Linked DNA regions of Homo sapiens: all the other regions are linked to region 2. The links are contacts of gene promoters, found by promoter capture Hi-C in blood cells and fetal thymus (Javierre and others, 2016). All regions are on one chromosome and are shown on one strand. Each heading gives the region's core, a stretch centred on a gene start or on the middle of the fragment in contact. The rest is flanking DNA. Distances are from core to core; before and after follow the strand shown. Region 1 overlaps RASA2 (RAS p21 protein activator 2). Region 2 holds the start of GK5 (glycerol kinase 5). Region 3 overlaps RASA2 (RAS p21 protein activator 2).

Evidence for each region. The method cuts DNA at HindIII sites, captures the fragments that hold promoters and counts their contacts. A CHiCAGO score of 5 or more calls a contact.
Region 1: a contact is called between a fragment that was not itself captured here and the fragment with the promoter of GK5 in region 2, in 1 of 17 cell types (fetal thymus). The highest score is 6.3, in fetal thymus.
Region 3: a contact is called between a fragment that was not itself captured here and the fragment with the promoter of GK5 in region 2, in 1 of 17 cell types (fetal thymus). The highest score is 5.2, in fetal thymus.

Annotation. Positions count from the first base shown.
Region 1 is chr3:141,490,741-141,493,440 of GRCh38, forward strand. The region is part of intron 1 of RASA2 (RAS p21 protein activator 2); the gene reads left to right. Among named protein-coding and RNA genes, the nearest start is that of RASA2, 5.1 kb to the left of the region's middle. The HindIII fragment of the contact is 702 bases long and covers 947-1,648 here.
Region 2 is chr3:142,224,297-142,226,996 of GRCh38, forward strand. GK5 (glycerol kinase 5) reads right to left here and starts at 1,289. Exons shown (of 16, transcript NM_001039547.3): 1 at 1,013-1,289. The coding sequence starts at 1,159. RefSeq lists silencers at 823-1,042, 1,233-1,472. The HindIII fragment of the contact is 7,101 bases long and covers 1-2,054 here.
Region 3 is chr3:141,576,360-141,579,059 of GRCh38, forward strand. It overlaps RASA2 (RAS p21 protein activator 2), which reads left to right. Exons shown (of 24, transcript NM_006506.5): 15 at 641-747. Among named protein-coding and RNA genes, the nearest start is that of RASA2-IT1, 53 kb to the left of the region's middle. The HindIII fragment of the contact is 640 bases long and covers 978-1,617 here.

The DNA of each region.
Region 1 (2,700 bases), core at 48-2,547, 730 kb before region 2:
GGCTGGGTGAAAAAGTTAGTTACCTGGGTTTGAATCTTCACCTAATTTCCAACTTTTGTTAATGTCTTTGGGCCTTCATATTCTCATATATAAAATGGGGATAGTAAAAATACCTATCTCACGGGTTGTTATGAGGTTTAAATAAGCCTCCCTCCCTACTCTGCCCCTCCTCATCTCTGCCTGCTCTTTCTCACTCCCCAGGATCTGGGTCATACACCGACCATCTCTTAGGAAGGAGTAAAGTAGGAGATAAAAACTAATCTTCATCTGATGTTCTTGTCCAATGTATACTGGAGTTTCCAGGTGTACAAAGCTGATTAAAATCTGAAGACCTATATTCTTCTTTAAACGTTGTTAATTAATCTTCATATGGCGTTAGCCAGCTCACTTATCTTGAAGCTTACCTTCCGCATCTTTTAAATGGGAATGATGCTTTTCCACTATCCATTGTATACAGGTTGTTCCCTCTGCTTGGGATTGTCTTTCTTCTTTACTCCACCCCATCTTTATGTCAGGAAGCTCCTACTCATCCCTCAAAAGCCTGCTCTATGTGATCTCCTTCCCAAAACCTTCTGAGACACTTCCAGTGCCATCTCTGGCCAGCATCTCTGCTGCTGGGGAACACAATTCCTTGCTCATTTCCTTATTATAGCACATTTCATAGAAATCATTTGTTCACTTCTCCTGTTAGATTGTGAGCTCTTTCAAGATAGAATTGATTCTTGTTCATTTTTAAAAAATCATCCCAGTGTCAGCACAATGCCTAGAACAGAATAGGCCTTTAGAATATGCCCTACCTCACAATGTTATCCTGTGGATAATTACTAGATATGAAAGTATTTTATAAATTATATACCTAAAAAAACTAGAAGGTGTTAGTATTAAGAGAAAACTGTATGAGTCTGCATCAGGAAGTTCATCCCTTTCAAAATCACAGTGCCCACTAAGCTTAGGTTTGAATTGATGCCAAAGTTGCCTTGTTAGGAAAAAGATTAAATTTTTCTTAATGCTCTGATTACTTATTATTAGGGCATTTGAATATTGTTACTAATTGGTCCTGGAGCTTGGAAAAGAAAATCTCATATTCATACTTTACACATTAAGTGTTTTAATTTGACATGACAGGTTTGAATAAAACCGTCTATTTAATTCTGTGAAGTATAAATCAAAACATTTTATTGACTATCCAGTAAAGTTGAGTGGAAGAGATTAAAAAGGGTGTATTCATGCTAAGAGTTCATTTTTATCAGATATTTGAAATGAGATGATGAGTTATTTAGGATGGAGGAAGAATCCATCTTTCAGATGGATAGAAACTGGGGAGAAAAGGGTTCTTTGTAAAAGTTCACAGAGCAGTCTGCTAATCATTTGCTCTGTGGAAGACGGGAGGTAAACCTCAGTGAGTTCATAGAGTTGTTTTTTTAAAACTTAGAACTCTTTGAATAGATCCTTAAGTGACTAATATAGCCAGAATAAAACCATCATTTTATCCTTTAATCATAGCTGCTAATCCTATTTCCTTGTTAATGTGCTTTATGAAATTATTTGACAATAATATCAGATTACATGTTTTTGCTACTAATAAAGTTCTATTCTCTTTTGAGAACTGCAAACAAAATGTTGTATAGTCATATATTCATGTAAGTTAAGCTTTTTATGTGTATTAAGACATTTTTATGGCATCTCTTTAGGTTTGTATGTAATTTTAGTTATCAAAAACCCCTATCTAAAGTGATAAACATTAAAAGTTTGTATCAGTACACATACAGAGAACCATAAATGACAAATTTGTTTTCCTGTCATTAATGACAATGACTTTGGGCAAATTCTTTAACCTTGCTGAGCCCGTATTTCCTTACTTGTAAAATTAGAGGTTTGGATATGGTCTTTAACATCCCTTCTACCATTTTGATTATTGCTTTTTAACTTGAACCATTTGCTTTAAGGCAGTACATCAGATGCTTTATTTTAGTGTTTAAATGTATTTAGTACACTTGTTTTGCATGATTCACTGTTTTAAAAATATTTAAGATTTATTAGATAAGAGCGTTTGAATTCTAAATTTTTTTTCTGTGACTGTTAATTAATTCAGCAGCACGTAATACATATCGAAGGGTCTGTTAAGAGACGCTAACCCACTGGACTGAAATGGGCCTAAGCTGTGAATCGGATGAAAGATCCTATTTTATCCTAAAGTCTATACTAAGCAATAGCTGTTTTTAGACATCTGTATTCTTAGACAATTATAGAAATTTAAAGCTGGAAGGTAGAGAACATGAAGGTAGAGAAAATAAAGGTTCTTACCCTTCATTTTACAAATGAAGAATCTAACAGAGACAGCAAGTGTCACACAGTTGATGGCCTGTTCGGCACTAGTCCACTATTATCAAAGTTCTTTCTAGAATGCTATATGAGATTAACTTATTACTATGAATGTTGCAAATGTACTACATTTAATACACAGAGATTATACTACTTATCTGTTTATATATTGAGAGGTGGTAAGATTTTCACTGTGCCGTCTACACACTCTTAACTGTTCCTTCTTAAGAACTTTGTGAAGTGGTTAGGATTAGTGATGAAACTATGGTTATGACCTAGGTGGAGATTGAACCTGGATGTTTAGTTACTTGTGCCATGGTCTACCTCAGCTATTTTCAGTTCTGACTGTCTGTCACCATCACCTGTGAACTAAAAAAA
Region 2 (2,700 bases), core at 39-2,538:
GCTACTTGGGGGGCTGAGGTGGAAGGATCACTTGAGCCCAGGAGGTCAAAGCTGCAGTGAGCCGAGATCACAGCACTGCACTCCAGCCTGGGTGACAAAGTGAGACCCTGTCTCAAAAGAAAAAAAGGAACAACAATAAGAACACCATAACAAATAAATATTATTTTTGGTGCATTGACAATTGTGTATAAATCAACACTTCATTAATATGAGAACAGAAGGATATCAATTTGTTGGTTGCTGACCAATATTATCAACAATTCAAGGCTTTACTAACAACCAACCAATGATTTGGCAGGTCTCTCAAACGAGGGGAAATAAAGAATTTTATGAATTCTCAAAGATGGAAAATAGAAAACTGATGACCACACAGCCTTCAAAACTTGCCCAATACCTCTAATATCCACGGCAATCAGTTGCTCACGTAAGGAACCAGCATTTTGTGGAGTAGTAGTTAATAAAGATGACAAGTGAAGAATAGAGAATAAACTTAAATTCTACAAAGATATGAAAAGTTATTGAGGCACAAGTCCAAAGGCTATAATAAAGAAAAAAGAAAAAAAGTTTTGAAAAATTAAAATGTAAATAAAGATGTGGTGGGAGATCTATCAGGGAAGTGCAGGAAGAACCAAGCAACTCACAAACCACCCTCTGGCTGGATGTGCACAGCCTGCCCAGTCCCGTCCGGCGAGTCACCTCAGTCCCATCCAGGTAAGGCCGGACAGGTGGCTCCCCAGGTGGCAAGAGGCAAGCGAGCGGCCCAGGTCATACACCGGGCCCCTGGCACCCTCAGCCTGGACAGGAAGGGCGCGCGGGATTCAGCCCAGACGAGGGAGGGAACGCGAAGACTCAGCCGGTCTGGGCGCGCCGTTCTGGCCCCAGGGCCCGCGGGTGCTGCAGGTGGCCGCGTCCAGGGCGGTAGGTGGGGCCTGCCCGCTCGCCTCCCGAGGCCGGACCCCGGGACTCAGCGAAACCCAGTCAGACCCGCGCCCCACGCCCGCCCCCAAGTCACCTTCTGCACGCTGGAGCCGCAGACCCGCGCCGCCCGGTCATAGACGTGGCAGCGGATCACAGAACTGCCCACATCCAGCCCCAGCACGAAGCCGGGGTACCGCGGCTCCTGCGCTCTCTGCTCCGGGTCCGTGAGCAGCCCCGACATCCCGATCCCGCACGCCTCTCCGCTACAGCCGCCTACCCAGAGGGCGCGCTACAAATCCCAATGCTCCAGAGTCCCCGGGCGGCCCAACCCGGGCCCCAACCCGGCTCAGCCGGAGAGCCTAGAGAGGCCTGGCCCCTGCCGCCGGCTCCACCCCGACGCCGTGACGCCACGGGCGCGCGCCGGCGGCCGCGCGGGAGGGGTGGAGGTGAGCGGGTTTGCGCCGTGATCTGCAGCCCCAGATCGCCAGCCATGCTCAGCCTCCAGTCGCCGGCCGCGGTTGGATTGACTTGGCCCTTAACTCTTGTTTTTTTTCTTTTTGAGACGGAGTCTCACTCTGTCGCCCCGGCTGGAGTGCGGTGGCGCGATCTCGGCTCACTGCAACCTCCGCCTCCCGGGTTCAAGCGATTCTCTTGCCTCAGCCTCCCGAGTAGCTGGGATTACAGGCGCGCTCCACCACGCCCGGCTATTTTTGTATTTTTAGTAGAGAAGGGGTTTCACCATGTTGATCAGGCTGGTCTCGATCTCCTGATCTCGTGATCCGCTCGCCTCGGCTTCCCAAATTGCTGCGATTGCAGGCGTGAGCCACCGAGCCCGGCGGCCCTTAACTCTTAATTTTTTCTTTTGCTTCTCCAGCTTCCTGAGAGGCAGCGCCAGCGTTTCTCTTAACCCTAGCTACATTTGAAGAATCTCTGTTAAAGAAAAATAGCTACCCCATATGCTAATCGTAAGGAGAGAAGTATAGGCTAGTTTATATAAAAATCTCAAAAAGTTTGGAGGTGCCATAAGGCACATTTATTCATTTCTCAACTATGATTATGACTTGAGGGTTGGAGAAATTTTTATCTGAGTAACTTTGGCAGACTAACCTGTGTCTGCGTTCGTGCAGAATTTTTCAAGCTTAAAACATTTGTAGAGGTCACTACCATATATAGTTTCCATTTTTTTGCTAACATTTTGGGTGCGACTTTATTTCAGTATTATTAAATGCACAGCCATTGAATATGCTAGAGTTAAATGAAATAAAGTGCTGTTTTTCAAAAATGAAATAAAACAAGTGACATAAAAAATTCAAAATTTGGCCAAAAGTATTAATATTTATTAACAAACTGAGAGCTCCCCACGACTTCTCTTCCCAGAAAACCTGGTAAAGTTTGCACACAATACAAAGCGGTAAATATTTGCCAAATGAAATACAACGCAAGGAAGAAGACTTTTCTCAGCCCTCTAGTGGGAAAGAAAGGAGAAAGCTTAAGGTGGCTGCTTTGACCATCACACTCCACTCCAGCGGTTGCTTTTTTTTGGAATCTGAAAGCCTCACAGAGACCCTTTACCTTTTGTTGCTGCCCAAGGGGATGGGCTCATCCAGACACTTGGCCAAAAGGAACAAGGTGTCCTGTGGAAATTTCGAGATTCTTGCGGCTTAGGTTCCTGGGCCTGGAGCTTTCCCGGGGAGGGTCCTGATCTGCAAGTAGTGGGGAGGTGGTTCCACCTGCGCCACCCACCTCTCCACTGCCACCAGCAATCTGTGAAGCCGGGGCCTG
Region 3 (2,700 bases), core at 48-2,547, 650 kb before region 2:
GAACCAAACCTAAAGATTCTTTCCCTCACCATCTGCTTCACCACCATCTGTCTGATTGTTGGGTAAATTGTTGACTCCAGTCTGAAACGAAAGTTGTAGGTGAATGATCAAAGCCACCAGTAGTCTTCAGTTCATCTGCATTTTTATTTATGGACTGTTGATAGCTTTTTAAAGTAAACATTTCTGCCTAATTGTTTTTGTTGCATAACTTTTGATATTATCAAGATTTTTGGGGGGGATATTGAAACAAGAACCTAAAACTGAAAGTAGCCTTGTATCATACTCTTAAGGGATTCAGTGTTACCACTAGGTAGTGCTAGATACTACTTTTATTTCTGTTGTAATTTTAGCAGTCTCTTCTTGCAGGTGAGGAAAGAGGTATTTTTCAAATTAAAATATTTCTGAAAACCTAGCAGCTTTGTCTTTTTTCATATTATTTCTTATTTCTTTTGGATTTTTTTAATCATAGGGGTTTTCTTTTAATTGAGTCATAAATATCACTATCATTTCATCAACTCAGTTCTTACTAGACAAATTATGTTGCTCTCCTAGTTTACATGTCTTTTCTATATTTTTTAATTTATCATCTTTGTTTTTTAATTGTTTTTGTGCATGACATTTCACCATTTTTTTCCTGCAGATGACCCTCATGTTCAGTATTCTGCAGTGAGCAGCTTTGTATTTCTTCGTTTCTTTGCTGTAGCCGTAGTATCACCTCATACTTTTCATTTGCGACCTCATCATCCAGTAAGTGTTCATTCTTCTGAAAGCTTTATTCCATTTTTTTAATTTTTATTAAAATGAAGAAAAGATAAAATAAACCAATTTCACTAGGCTGTATTTTCTTATAACTGATACTTAAATTTACTCAGCATTTTTCTTGGCCATTTCAGTCTTTCAAGTGAGGCTAATAATCCTATTTTTTGTTGTTGTTAAAAGATGTTCTACAAGAGTAATAAAATGTTGTTAATTATTGAAGCTTGGTGATGAGTACAAAGGGGATTTATTATATTTTTTCATCTGCTACTGTGTGTGTTTGTAAATTTCCATAAGTTTTTTTTCATTAGTTACAGGTTTCATTTTGATAGGTTTTTTATTTAAACAAAATCTACTTTCCTGATTTATTAAAATAGGTTAATTTTGCAGATATTTTTAAATTGCACAGAAATTTGAAGAGGCTCTTCTCTAAGAAAGAAGGCTACAAGAGAAATTCCATTTAATTTAGAAACAGCATCTAAGATAGATTTCAGTAGCAATGAAACTGAAAGCATATAATTAGAAAATATTAAATGGCAGGTGAACTGGATAAGCATTAACAGTAAAAACAGAAAAAGAAACCAAGAATGCAGTATAGTGAAAGGCGTAGGAACTTTTATTGGAATATAACTTGTTAAATATATCAGTATTTTCACTTTTTATTTACCTGAGGTAATACTGTAAACATGAGATTTAAAAATTTCTTAAGCATATAAACTTTGTTCTGGAGTCCTGTTTAATTACCAAAAATCTAAATCTCCACTGCATAGATTTACATGTTTATTTCTTAATTTTTAAAATTCTTTATTTTTGCTATACTTCTGATTCCTTCTTATATGGTGTAATTTGGTTGATTCTTTAAGCTTTTATGTTCCAAATACTTTATAATCTTACCTAATTGCTCCTAGTTGCTGATTTGTATAACAAATAATAACAATAGTCCACATTTATTTAGTGCTTTGTACTAGGCCTTGTTCTAACTACTTTATGTGTTAACTTATTTGGTCCTCCTAGCAACCTGGTAAGGTAAATTCTGTTATCATCCACATGTGCAGATAAGGAAATCACAATACAGTAACTTTTCCAAGCTCACACAACTGACAAATTATGATTTGATCATACTCGATTTGAATTGGATTTAACTGGGATTCAAATTCAGTCAGTCTTTATCATCTGTGAGCTTAATCCTATCCCTTCCAACCTCTTAGACAGATGTTCAAGTACCTATAATGTATCATTCCATGCTCAGTACTGGAGATGCAGTGATGAGTAAGATACTCTTTGCCCTTAGGAAACTCACAGCCAAGAGGAGTTGCTCAATAGTGTAGGGAAAACAGATGAGTTTTAGAGTTAAACCAGGTTCTGAATACCCATTTCTTCTCTCAACGGCTACATGACATTGACACTCACTTAACTTTGTGAGAACTGAATAGAACCATGTTGCAGTGGCAGCACCACGCCCTTTCTTGCCAAAGGATAAATGGTCTGTGAGTAGCCCCAGCAGAGAGTGGGCCAGTGTCCTTTTGTTCACAGGGCTGTCCATTCTGTGGCTTTGTTACTAAAGCTGCACAGAACTCTGAGGCAGTGAAAGCGTGGTAGCAACATTCTGGACATAAACAGAACACCTACTTCTGAACTTGTGAGTCTGCCTTGTATTCATACTTGAATTTGCATATTCCTGTAACAGATGTTGGTGGATACTTAGGTTGGTTCTATGACTTTGCTATTGTAAATAGTGCTGCAGGAAACATGAGTGCAGGTGCCAGGACATCTTTAAGAATATTATTTTCTTCAAAGACAGAGAATTGTAGGGACCTTTTATAGATGTAATGAAATCCCAGATGTTACAGCTAAAATGTTTTCTGAATAGACTTAATTTAGGTGTGTATCTACTTTATAAGTATATTATAAGGATCATATTTCGGATATTCCTTCCTTTCCAGA